4 separate regions of the Homo sapiens genome follow, and regions 1, 3 and 4 are each linked to region 2. The links are contacts of gene promoters, found by promoter capture Hi-C in human tissues and cell types (Jung and others, 2019). All regions are on one chromosome and are shown on one strand. Each heading gives the region's core, a stretch centred on a gene start or on the middle of the fragment in contact. The rest is flanking DNA. Distances are from core to core; before and after follow the strand shown.

Region 1 (2,700 bases), core at 82-2,581, 100 kb after region 2:
TAAAGATAATGAAGATAGAAATTGGAGCATCTAAGAAACAACTAAATGAAACTTCTGGAGATGATAAAACACAGTATTAATAAAACTTTTGTTGAACAGGATTAATGGTAGATGCTGCAGAAGAAAAGATCAATGACCTTGAGTGCATAGCAATAGAATCTGTCCAAAATGAAAAGACTGAAAAAGTTGAGAAGAGCTGCAGTGACCTGTGGGACAATATCAGTCTAATACACGCATAACTGGAGTCCCAGAAGTAGAAGAAATGGAGGGACAGGAAAAATATATGAAGAAATAATGGCAAAAATTTTACGAAGTTTGACAAAATTAAAACCCAGAAATACAAGAAGCTTAAACTCCAGAGAATCAAAACGTAGCCATACCGAGAAGCACATCATAATTAAATTGTCCAAAAACAGTCATAAAGGGAAAACATAAAAGGGGCAGGAAGACACATTCCATACAGTGTAACACAGGTAAGAATGACTGCAGTCTTCTTGTCTGGAACTATGCAAGCCAGAAGACAAAGCCATGACAACTTTTAAGTCATGAAAGAAAAAAATATAACTGTCAATCAAGAAGTCTATATTCAGCAAATATATTCTTCAAAAATGAAGGTGAAAAAAAAATAGTTTCAGACAAAAGCAGAGAGAATTCATCTCCTGCAGACCTGTGCTATAGGAGATGTTAGAGTTAAGTTCTTATGGCAAAGAGAAATGATACCAGATGGAATCCTAGATCTACAAAAAGGAATGAAGAGTGCTGGAGTCGGCAGGCAGATGTACAATAAATACAAAATACTTTACTTTCAATATCTAAAACAAGATAATTTTTGAGTGCAAAAATAACGTATAGTGCAGTTCACAGCATATGTGGAAGGAAAAAGTCTGATAATAATTCAAAGGATGGGAGGGAAGTGGAAGCTTGATGTCAGCCGCTGCCATGGATACTGAAGTTGTCTACTAGTGATTAAAGGTATGCGGCGTGAAGTTGAAGATGTGTATGGTAAATCCTAGACACTGCTGGCCGGGCACAGTCACTCACGCCTGTAATCCCAGCACTTTGGGAGGGCAAGGTGGGTGGATCACCTGAGGTCATGAGTTTGAGACCAGCCTGGCCAACATGGTGAAACCCTGTCTCTACGTAAACTTTGTCTCTACTAAAAATACAAAAATTAGCAGGGTGTGGTGGCAGGCGCCTGTAATCCCAGCTACTCGGGGGGCTGAGGCAGGAGAATTGCTTGAACCCAGGAGGCAGAGGTTGCGATGAGCCAAGATCGCACCATCGCACTCCAGCCTGGGGGACAAGAGGGAGACTTTGTCTCAAAAAAAAAAAAAAAAAAATCCTAGACGCTGCCATCATATTGAACTCGTACAATAGTAATTAAGGGTACATTGTGTTAAGGTGAAGATGTGTATGGCAAATCCCAGAGCAACCTCTAAACAATAAACCTAAGAAGTATAACCAGTAAGCCCATAGTGGAGACAAAATGGAATCCTAAAAAGTAATCCAAAATTAGGCAGGAAAAAAGAAAAAAGGAACAAAAAGCAGGTGGGAAAAATAGAAAACAAATAGTAATATGGCAGTTTAAATCCAACCACATCAGCCATTATGTGGAAGGTAGTAAATGGTCTAAATACTCCAATAAAAACCAGACTGTCAGACTAGATATCCAGCAAGACCCACCTCTATGTTAAATACTAGAAAGTCACTTGAAATATGCAGATAGGTTAAAAGTGAAAGGATAGAATGCTTTCAGGAAGTGAAGGGTCTTCTTGTTGGATACTTGGTGGTCACCAGCAGGCACTGGTGTAACTAAGCACAGCGGGAAGATGGCAGATACTGTGGATTCGGACTCTCACTGCATAGAATCCGAATTCAGTGGGCTGTCAACACGGCTTCCCAAATCCCAACACAGATTAGTATCTCATATGTGTTCCTGCTACATATTACACCTGGCTTCATGTCCAAGCTCTAATGAAGCTTCTACCCTTGCCCGTCTACATCCCATTCTCCACAGAGCATCCAAAGTAGTGTAATCGAACATGTCACTCTTCTGCTCAGAACCCTTCAGTAGCTCCTCCCCATTTCATGCCGGACAAACACCAGAGTCCTTCTGTGGGTCTCCATGGCCCCGAGGGTTCCCTGTCCCTCACCTCTCACCACTCTCCACTTCTCCCCCAACATGCCAGGGACACTCCTGACTTGGGGCCCTGGTAACTGTCCTCTGGCTCTGGAATGTCCATCCCTCCTCCATGTCTGTTCAGCATCGCCCTCCCCAGGAGGCTGCCCTCTTGCTGCACCAGCCCTGCCCATCCCCAGCAGGCTCTCCTGGTCTCGTCCTGTCATCTCGTCCTTTTTCCCTTTGCACTCACCACCTGCCACACCACACACCACACTCTCACTGCTGTCTGTTGTCTGTCCCCTCATCTGCAATGAACGGGTCCTGAAGGCAGGGCTTTGGTCTGCTCTGTTCTGATGTGTGCTGAGTATCTAGAACAGTGCCCGGCACACAGCAGGTACTCAGTAAGTCATCTGTTGACTAAATGGACAGTGCCCGGCACACAGCAGGTGCTCAGTAAGTCATCTGTTGACTAAATGGACTGTGTGACCGACAGAGTCATAGAGTGTTAGCAAGAAAGGACCTAAGAGATGGGCTGGGCATCTCTCCCTCCACAGCCCATTTTGGAGATGGGGGGCCTA
Region 2 (2,700 bases), core at 138-2,637:
CCTGCTCCTGCACCCAGCAAGGCCGGGTGGGGATGGGGGTCAGAGAGGGGATGGGTGAGACCCGTTCCTGGGGCCACCACACTGCCTGCAGTGAGCTCACTTTACAGACTCGACTCGGAGTAGAATGGGGCTGGGCTGGCTCGGCAGACTCTCCTGGCCATGAGCACATGGAGAACCCCCTAGCCAGCCACGAGCTCCAGGAAGAAACCAGTGCCGGGGCGGGAGCGTCTGGCAGGCCTGGCACAGCAGGCGTCTGTCTGTCCATCCAGTGAGTGCCCGTGTCCCCCAGCCCTGAATGCCGTCCACTCTGCCTGGGTACTCAGTGGAGCCTGAGAAGGCCCAGAAAGGTGGGCCTGGAGTACAGACACCTCTCCCTCTCTTATCCGTAGGGTGGAGCCATGTGAGCCAGGGACAGGAAACCCCTCAAGTCGCCTGCCTTCGCTCATGGCCTGAGGACCCAGTGCCAGGACCCATAGGCCCTGAGCTCCCCAGCAAGGCGGGCCTGATGGAGCCCGGCCTCACAACTCTTGGGGGTCCCAGCTTCCTCCCGCACCTTCGCCCCGGGGGTCTCTCTCTGTGGGAGGACAGGTGCCGTGGCTCCTAGTCTTGGGCTGGCAAAACGGGGCCAGGAGCACGACATCTGTGGCCCTGGAAGGAGAGGGTTCGAGCTGGGGCTGGCATTTGGAGCTGCGACGATGACCGGAGGGTGTGACCATGGAGGCGCCGCAGGAGGTCGGAGGGGCAGCCTTCTAGTTCTACCCTTCACTTCACATTAGCGGAGGCCCAGAGGGACAGAGACTGAGCCTGGGCCGCCTGCACCTGCCTAACCCTGAAGCCCGAGCCAGGTCTCAGTGTTAGGACTCGGCCCCGGCCCCAGGCTGGGAGCCTCACTACGGACTGTGGGGTGTTCCTGGAGGAAAGTCCCCGAGGAGTTTCGGCCACCCAGCAGCCCCTCATGCCCCCATCCTTCTGTGGTGGGCAGGCGGGCCCCTCCTCAGAGCTCTCTGCAGAAAGAATGGGGATGCCCCCCACCCCAACGAAGGGACCTGCTCCATGGGGGAGCCCCTGGGCAGGCAGGAAGCCAACCCCAGCTGGGTGTACCCCGTCCAGAGCCGCACTGAGTGTGTGTCCCTCCTCGTGCCCCAAGGGGCTTTGGGGACCAGGGCGGGCCCTGGCACTGCCTCCCCACAGGCCAGGGTGTGTGAAAGTCCCGGTGGGCTGGGGTGCCGCCCTGCCTCCCTAGAGTCCAACGCTCCACCTTCTCCCTGTGGCCCACACGTCTAGGCTGGGTCCCCACCTGGCACAGTGGCTTCCGGAAGAGGTCTCGGAGGTCATGGCCCACCTCTCAGCGTGAGCCTGGTCTCGGCAGTAGAGTCCCGTCCTCACTGCGGGACAGAGGGTGGGGAGGGGTGGCCCTTGGAGCCCCGCCCAGGCAGTGGCAGCCATTCGCATGCCCTCACCTTGCCTGCAAGTGGGCCAGGAAGCAGGCAGGGGAGGTGCCCAGCACAGCTGGCCAGGGCAAGGCTTCCCGGCTCCTGGAGCAGGATCTATCTTTGTTTAAATAGGGGGTGTGGGGCTCAGAGCTGCAGACAGAGGCAGCCCACTTGGCTGGGCTTTCACACACCCGCATGCAAATGCTGCCGTCCTCCTGGGAACCTTATTTGCTTAGAGATTTCAGGGCTGGCATCAGCTGTCATAGTTGCTGCCTTGGAGGGTCTCGAGGAGGTGGGATTCCACAGGAACAGCCACAAGTGCCACCTCTGCTGGAAGCCTTGCCAGGCAGACCTCGTAAGCTCTGTTTATGTGGGGGGAAACTGAGGCTCCTTGAGGTTACGTAGCATGTGCTGAGTGGTGGGCCAGGGTTTCACCCGGGGGCTGGGGAGATTGGGAGACCCAGATCACACTGCTGGCTCTGCTAATGCCTGAGGGGTGACCTCAGGCACATCCCATGCTCAGGGCCCCATCTGCAAAAGGACAGGAGGGGTCCTAGCCTTCCTCCCATCCTTTCCGCCCTCCTCCTCGTCCTCATTCTCCTCCTAGCCCTCCTCTTTCTCCTCCTAGCCCTCCTCCCCCTCCTCCTTTCTCCCCCTCCTCCTATCCTTTCTCCCCACCTTCCCTCTCCTCCTTCTCCTCCTATTGTTTCTCCCCCCTACTCCTCCCTCTCCTTCTCCTCCTATCCGTTCTCCCCTCTCCCTCTCCTCCTATCATTTCTCCCCCCAACTCCTCCTCCTCCTCCTCTTTCTCCCCACTCCCCCTCCTCCTATCGTTTCTCCCCCTCCCCCCCACTTCTCCCTCTCCTCTTCCTTCTCCTCCTTTCTCCCCACTCCCCTCCTCCTGTTTCTCCCCCTCCCCCCACTTCTCCCTCTCCTCCTCCTTCTCCTCCTATCCTTTCTCCCCGCCCCTCCTCTTCCCCTCTCCCTCCCCCTCCCCCTTTCCTCCTTGGTGCCTGGCAGTGTCTGAGAACCTACCACCCGTGCTCCTCGCCCTCCATGCACAACTGCACTGGGGAGCCCCAAGCTCAGCTTGCTGTTCCAGGTGCCCCCTTCTGCCTGTTGAAATCCCTCCAGGCGGACCCTCATCCTGGCTGCAGCTTTCCCTTATACCTATGCCCCTCTGTGCTTGGCACCTCCCAAGGGGCCCTGTTCTTGGACCTGTGTTGTGCCTCGGAACAGCGGGAAGGCCCTGCAGGCCGGGTTCCCT
Region 3 (2,700 bases), core at 32-2,531, 79 kb after region 2:
CCTCTCCTTTCTGGCTGTGAGCGGTGTACTGCTCCTGGGCCTGCGGGGCTGCAGGCCTCCTCTCAGGAGCTCCTTCCTCCCTCCTGCGTCCTCTCCCCATCTCCCTGGATGAAAGGGTTTCTGAGTTCTTATTCTCAATCCCATCCTCAGGGCCCTGGCTTCTGTCTTGTCATCTTCATCTCCGTCTACTCCAGGGTCGGCAGACTGTGGCCTTAGGTCCCTCTTCCCCTTCCTCAGGCCCTGGCAGCTGCCATTCTGCTATTTTCTCTATGAATCTGACTACTCTAGGGACCTCCTATACGTGGAATCGTACAGCATTTGCCTTTTGGTGACTGGCTTATTTCACTTTGCATAAAGTCCTCAAGGTCCATCCATGTTGTGGCCTGTGCCAGCATCTTCCTTTTCAAGGCTGAATTTGATTGCGTTTTCTGGATATGCTGTACTTATTCATCTGTCAGTGGACATTTGTGTTGCTTCTACCTTTTGCTTCCATCTTTATGTTGTTCGTGATGCTGCTACAAACGTGTGTGCAAACATCCCCTGCCTCTTGTTTCTATAAATAAAGTTTTATTGGAATGGAGCTGTGCTCATTTGCTTATGTGTCGTCTGTAGCTGCCTTTGTCCTACATGACAGAGTTGAGTTGCAGTGGGGACCATGTGGCCCAAAACCTGAAATATTTACTATTTGACCCTTCACAGGAAAAGTTTGCCAACCTCTGTTCTGTTCTATTGGATATTTCTCTTCAGCTTCTAAACATCTTGAAATCTCTCTAAAAAACAGAAACAACACAAAAACAAAAACTGCTGAAACTGATTTTCTTGCTCTAGCCCCTACAGCTCTCATCCGTCCGCTCAGCTTCCCTGCGGTCTGTGCTAGCCACCCCACCACCCTGCTGACTCAGCCTGGGGGCCCGACTTTCACCCACGCTGCTGCTCTGGCCTCTGTGATCTGCCCTCTTGAGCCCTCCCCTCCCCTCCCCTCCCCTCCCTCCCAGCCCCTCTTCTCCGAGTCCAGCCCGGGGCTCTGTCCGTGCCACTCTTCTCACTGCTGTGGTTTCTCTTGGCTCCCTTGTCTAATTCTGGTTCTGAGAACAGGCTGCTGCTTCCCAGACCTCTTCTGGGGACAGACCCCCAGCTGCGGACCTGGAGACGCATGGCCTTGGCCAGTGCAGGGGCAGGGCTGTGGGTGCTGGTGACCTGGCTCTGGTGCGTGCTTGGCAGCAACTTCACCTCACCAAGCCTTGCTCTTCTGTGCAAAATGAAAGTCATATTTATCTTGCTAGGTTGTTGTGAGGATTTGGGTTAAGCCATGTAAAATGCTGGTACAGCATTGGCATCTCTAGGTACCCAATAGATGGTAGCATGGATGAGGATGTTTACGGTGACAGGAAATAAATGGTAGCATGGATGAGGATGTTTACGGTGACAGGAAATAAATGGTAGCGTGGATGAGGATGTTTACGGCGACAGGAAATAAATGGTAGCGTGGATGAGGATGTTTACGGTGACAGGAAATAAATGGTAGCGTGGATGAGGATGTTTACGGTGACAGGAAATAAATGGTAGCGTGGATGAGGATGTTTACGGCGACAGGAAGTAACAATAGTCCTTTGGGTGTCTTCTCCCTGAAGCTTGCTCCTCCATTTGGCCCACTGTGTGAACACCCACCTTCACCACGTCCTTCTTGTTTGCTTTCATCCTTCGGTGTTTTTCCCTGTTCAGTCTCGTCCTGCAGCACCCTTCACATCGTCGCCACAGCCATCTTCCTAAAGGGCATGTGTGTCCATGGTCACACCAAGCCCGTTCACACCAAGATCGTGAACATGCCTGATCACGTCTGAAGGGCACGTGACCCTGTTCTGAAGTGGCCTGCAGCTCCCGTGGCCCTCAGCAAAGCCAATGGACGTGTACTCTGCTTCCTCCAGGAAGCCCTCCCCCCGCTCCCCCCTCTGGTAGACACGTCTTGTGGTTGGTGTCCACAAGGAAGTTCCTGATTAGCCTCGGAGCTGCCCGATGGCCTCTCCACTCCTGGCACATGGCCTGCTGGCTGGCCTGGGGCAGAAGTGCGTGGAAATGGAGGGCGTGTTTGAGGGGTGGAGTGACCCTCCTCTTGGGAAACCACTGCCTGGCCTGTGTGCTGGTCGGGAAGGGCCATGGTGCTTCCCATGGGCGGGCTTGGCAAGCCTGCGCTGAGTGCCGTGGCGTCCTGATGCCTCCTCCTCCTCACAGCTACAGAGGGCCGGAGCTGGAGATGTGGTCTCTGGGAGTCACTCTGTACACGCTGGTCTTTGAGGAGAACCCCTTCTGTGAGCTGGAGGAGACCGTGGAGGCTGCCATACACCCGCCATACCTGGTGTCCAAAGGTGAGCGTGAGCTGCAAGTGGTAGACAGTCGACACTGTCCTTAGAGACCAGCCACTTTTTTTTCCCATTTCCTCATTCCTCAGTGTATCTCTGTCCATATCAACAGTCTCATTTGTTTCTTTTCTATTCATCAAATAATTTGCATATGACTTTAAAACATCTTGATAATTTAGTTTTTGTTAATGTTCCTCTTTGGATCTTAGAGGCCCTCTTGTGAGAAACACACTTGCAGTCAGGACAGGGAGGCTCCAAGTGGCCCTGTTGACTTGGTGCCTACATGGTTAAAGGAACTGGGGCCCGAATCCAGATGCAAGGCTGGGGGCTTCTCTCAGCTTGT
Region 4 (2,700 bases), core at 57-2,556, 92 kb before region 2:
ATTTTACATGTAATCCATCCTAAAACTAATAATAAAATGTTTTAGATAGTATTTCTTGTACTAAATCTTCAAAATCTGATGTATATTTTAGACTTACAGCACATATCATTTTAAACTAGCCACGTGTGAAGGCTGTAGTGACATGTGGCCAGTAGATGTTGGCCAGCACAGCTCAAAAGAGTAGTCTATTTCTATGAAAATCCATCAATTTATTCTTTTGGACCTAACATTTGTCCTATCCTCTTTTTTATTTTTTTGAGACAGGGTCTCACTTGGTCAGCCAGGCTGGAGTGCAGTGTCACGATCTCAACTCATTGCAACCCCCACCTCCTAGGCCCAAGCAATTCTCCCACCTCAGCCTCCCGAGTAGCTGGGATTACAGGCACGTGCCACCATGCCTGGCTTATTTATTTATTTATTTTTAAGACGGAGTTTCACTCCTGTTGCACAGGCTGGAGTGCAATGGCGCGATCTCGGCTCACTGCAACCTCTGCCTCCCGGGTTCAAGCGATTCTCCCACCTCAGCCTCCCGAGTAGCTGGGATTACAGGCATGCACCCCCAAGCCCGAGTAATTTTGTGTTTTAGTAGAGATGGGGTTTCTCCCTGTTGGTCAGGCTGATCTCGATCTCTCGACCTCAAGTGATCCGCCCACCTCGGCCTCCCAAAGTGCTGGGATTACAGGCGTGAGCCACCGCGCCCAGCCCCCCATCTTATTAAGAAAATAAATTGTATTTATCTGACACATGTTCTTTAATTAGGCTCTAAGTAAATATTATTCTTTACTCAGCTGTAGAAATATGTGCTGATTGTTTCTGTATTTGTAAAATTAATGTAGTGGCATACTCCACTAAATGTATTAATTTAGTGGAAAGTAGTGAGTTTAGTGGTTTAGTGGAATTAAATGTTAGCATTCCCAAACAGTGAGATACCTATTAAAGGGCAGGTTCTTTTAGATACCATTTTCCTTGATCTTTTTAACAACTTGCAGAAAAGGCCCCAAAACTTAGAAATGTGAATTATTAAAGTTGAGAGCTTAAACAACTAGCCAAGGTGACCCAAATTATATCTGAGCAAGATTCTGAAAGCAGGTATCCTGGCAACAAGTTTGGTGTTCTTTATACAATTTGTTCTCATTATAGGTGCCTATAATGACTCGGATAAAACACAAGTTACGTATTTTCACCTTACCTAGAAATACGTGAATCAAAGAAATAAGCCAGAGAACAGTGTCACTGGAGAATATACTAAGTTACCTTTTCTGTTACTTCCTGAAAAGTAGTGAAACTGACAGAATTAGTTAGTGGAGAAAGAACAAGGCAAATTTACAGGAAACCCTGGACTGCAAGGTCTTTGTTTCTGTCTCATCTGAACTTTCGTGAGACTTTATTTTAGGGCTGGGAGTTTAATGTAATAATATATACTGTAATATATATTAGCAGTAAATACATGTGAGCCAAAGAAAAGTTGTTCCTTATTAGAATATGCTACAAGTCAAATTAAACTGAGTATAAATAAGCTTAATTATAAAATTAGTTTGTGCTAATAAAAATGTAATATGAGCCACATATAATTTTAAATTTTCAGCTTTCAAATGGGATGGAAACATTTCTTTGACCTGACTTTGACCACCACACTCAGTATGGGAGTGCAAATTGTGCTAAACTTAGCTCCCATCCCATGGTGCCAATAACTTCCTATAAGACTGCACTGCTGCCAAGGAAGTGGTGGGCGCCTGTCCTCCACATCTCTGCTCCCACAGCCTTGGAGATGACCCCTGGTCCGCTGCTCCTCCTAACCCCTTCAGCATGGCTCCACTGCAGCGGGTTCCTGTCAGGTGATAAGTTAAAGCAAAGAGAGGAGTAGGCTGCATAAATTGTATACCTCTGTTTATCCATGTTATCCACTGACAATTAGGTTCTTAAAAATTTGTTGACTATTACTAGCAGTGCAGTGAGATGAGCATTCTTGTACATATTTCCTTTTGCCCAGGAAAGCTTTTTCCTGAAGTACGTCTCCAGAAGTGGGATCGTTCGCTCGTGGAGTATTTGCTTCTTAAGCCTTAATAGGCCTTGCAAATGGTGTCAAATAAGGACCTAGTTTTTCCCTCCTACTGTAGATAACCAGTTTTCCCAGAGCCATTGATTGCATCATCCATCTCCCTGCTGATCCACACGACCACATCTGAGGCAGGCAATGTCAGTGTCTGTGGTGTCTGCGTTGGGCCCACTCTGCTGCTCCCTTGTTCTCTGTGTCTGTCCCCGGCACTAGCACCACAGCCTGAATTACTGACACTGGAGAGAGCAAGCCCTCCTCCACGTTGTTTTCTTCAGAGTTATATTAGCTGTTCTTGGTCCTTGATCTTTTGTATAAATTTTGTTGTGTAAATATGATTGTATTTGTAACTATTCTAAAAATGGTGTATATAAATAATTTTTTTTACAATTCAGTGTTTGCAATGCAACATTATAAAAATTACATATAGAAAACTTGTATAAATAAAAATTGTATAAAATCTGGTTGTAAAATTCCATACACACACATACCTTTTGGGATTTAAGTTACATTTGCATTGAATTTCTAGTCTAATTAGGGGAGAATTACTATCCATGATTAAGTCTTTCTTTAGATGACCATGGCCTGTCTCCATTTATTAAGGTCATTTCTGTATTTTGACAAAGGTTTTTATAAGTTCTATAAAT

What was found. The method cuts DNA at HindIII sites, captures the fragments that hold promoters and counts their contacts. A contact is called where the count stands out against the background at its distance.
Region 1: a fragment that was not itself captured here is called in contact with the fragment with the promoter of ANO7 in region 2 in 4 of the 25 tissues and cell types used here (heart left ventricle, heart right ventricle, hippocampus and 1 more).
Region 3: a fragment that was not itself captured here is called in contact with the fragment with the promoter of ANO7 in region 2 in 3 of the 25 tissues and cell types used here (adrenal gland, pancreas and psoas muscle).
Region 4: a contact is called between a fragment that was not itself captured here and the fragment with the promoter of ANO7 in region 2, in 2 of the 25 tissues and cell types used here (dorsolateral prefrontal cortex and pancreas).

The regions. Positions count from the first base shown.
Region 1 is chr2:241,082,775-241,085,474 of GRCh38, reverse strand. The region is part of intron 29 of SNED1 (sushi, nidogen and EGF like domains 1); the gene reads right to left. It also overlaps a transcript of MTERF4 not described here. Among named protein-coding and RNA genes, the nearest start is that of MTERF4, 18 kb to the left of the region's middle. The HindIII fragment of the contact is 4,214 bases long and covers 1-2,700 here.
Region 2 is chr2:241,187,364-241,190,063 of GRCh38, reverse strand. ANO7 (anoctamin 7) reads right to left here and starts at 1,387. Exons shown (of 25, transcript NM_001370694.2): 1 at 1,298-1,387; 2 at 1-7. LOC105373971 (a long non-coding RNA gene) reads left to right here and starts at 1,642. Exons shown (of 3, transcript XR_924064.3): 1 at 1,642-1,788. RefSeq lists enhancers at 749-1,432, 1,433-2,117. The HindIII fragment of the contact is 24,444 bases long and covers 1-2,700 here.
Region 3 is chr2:241,107,830-241,110,529 of GRCh38, reverse strand. It overlaps PASK (PAS domain containing serine/threonine kinase), which reads left to right. Exons shown (of 18, transcript NM_015148.4): 16 at 2,230-2,363. Among named protein-coding and RNA genes, the nearest start is that of MTERF4, 6.9 kb to the right of the region's middle. The HindIII fragment of the contact is 4,883 bases long and covers 1-2,700 here.
Region 4 is chr2:241,279,078-241,281,777 of GRCh38, reverse strand. All of the region lies in intron 1 of HDLBP (high density lipoprotein binding protein), which reads left to right. Among named protein-coding and RNA genes, the nearest start is that of HDLBP-AS1, 8.3 kb to the right of the region's middle. RefSeq lists an enhancer at 44-544. The HindIII fragment of the contact is 3,126 bases long and covers 1-2,700 here.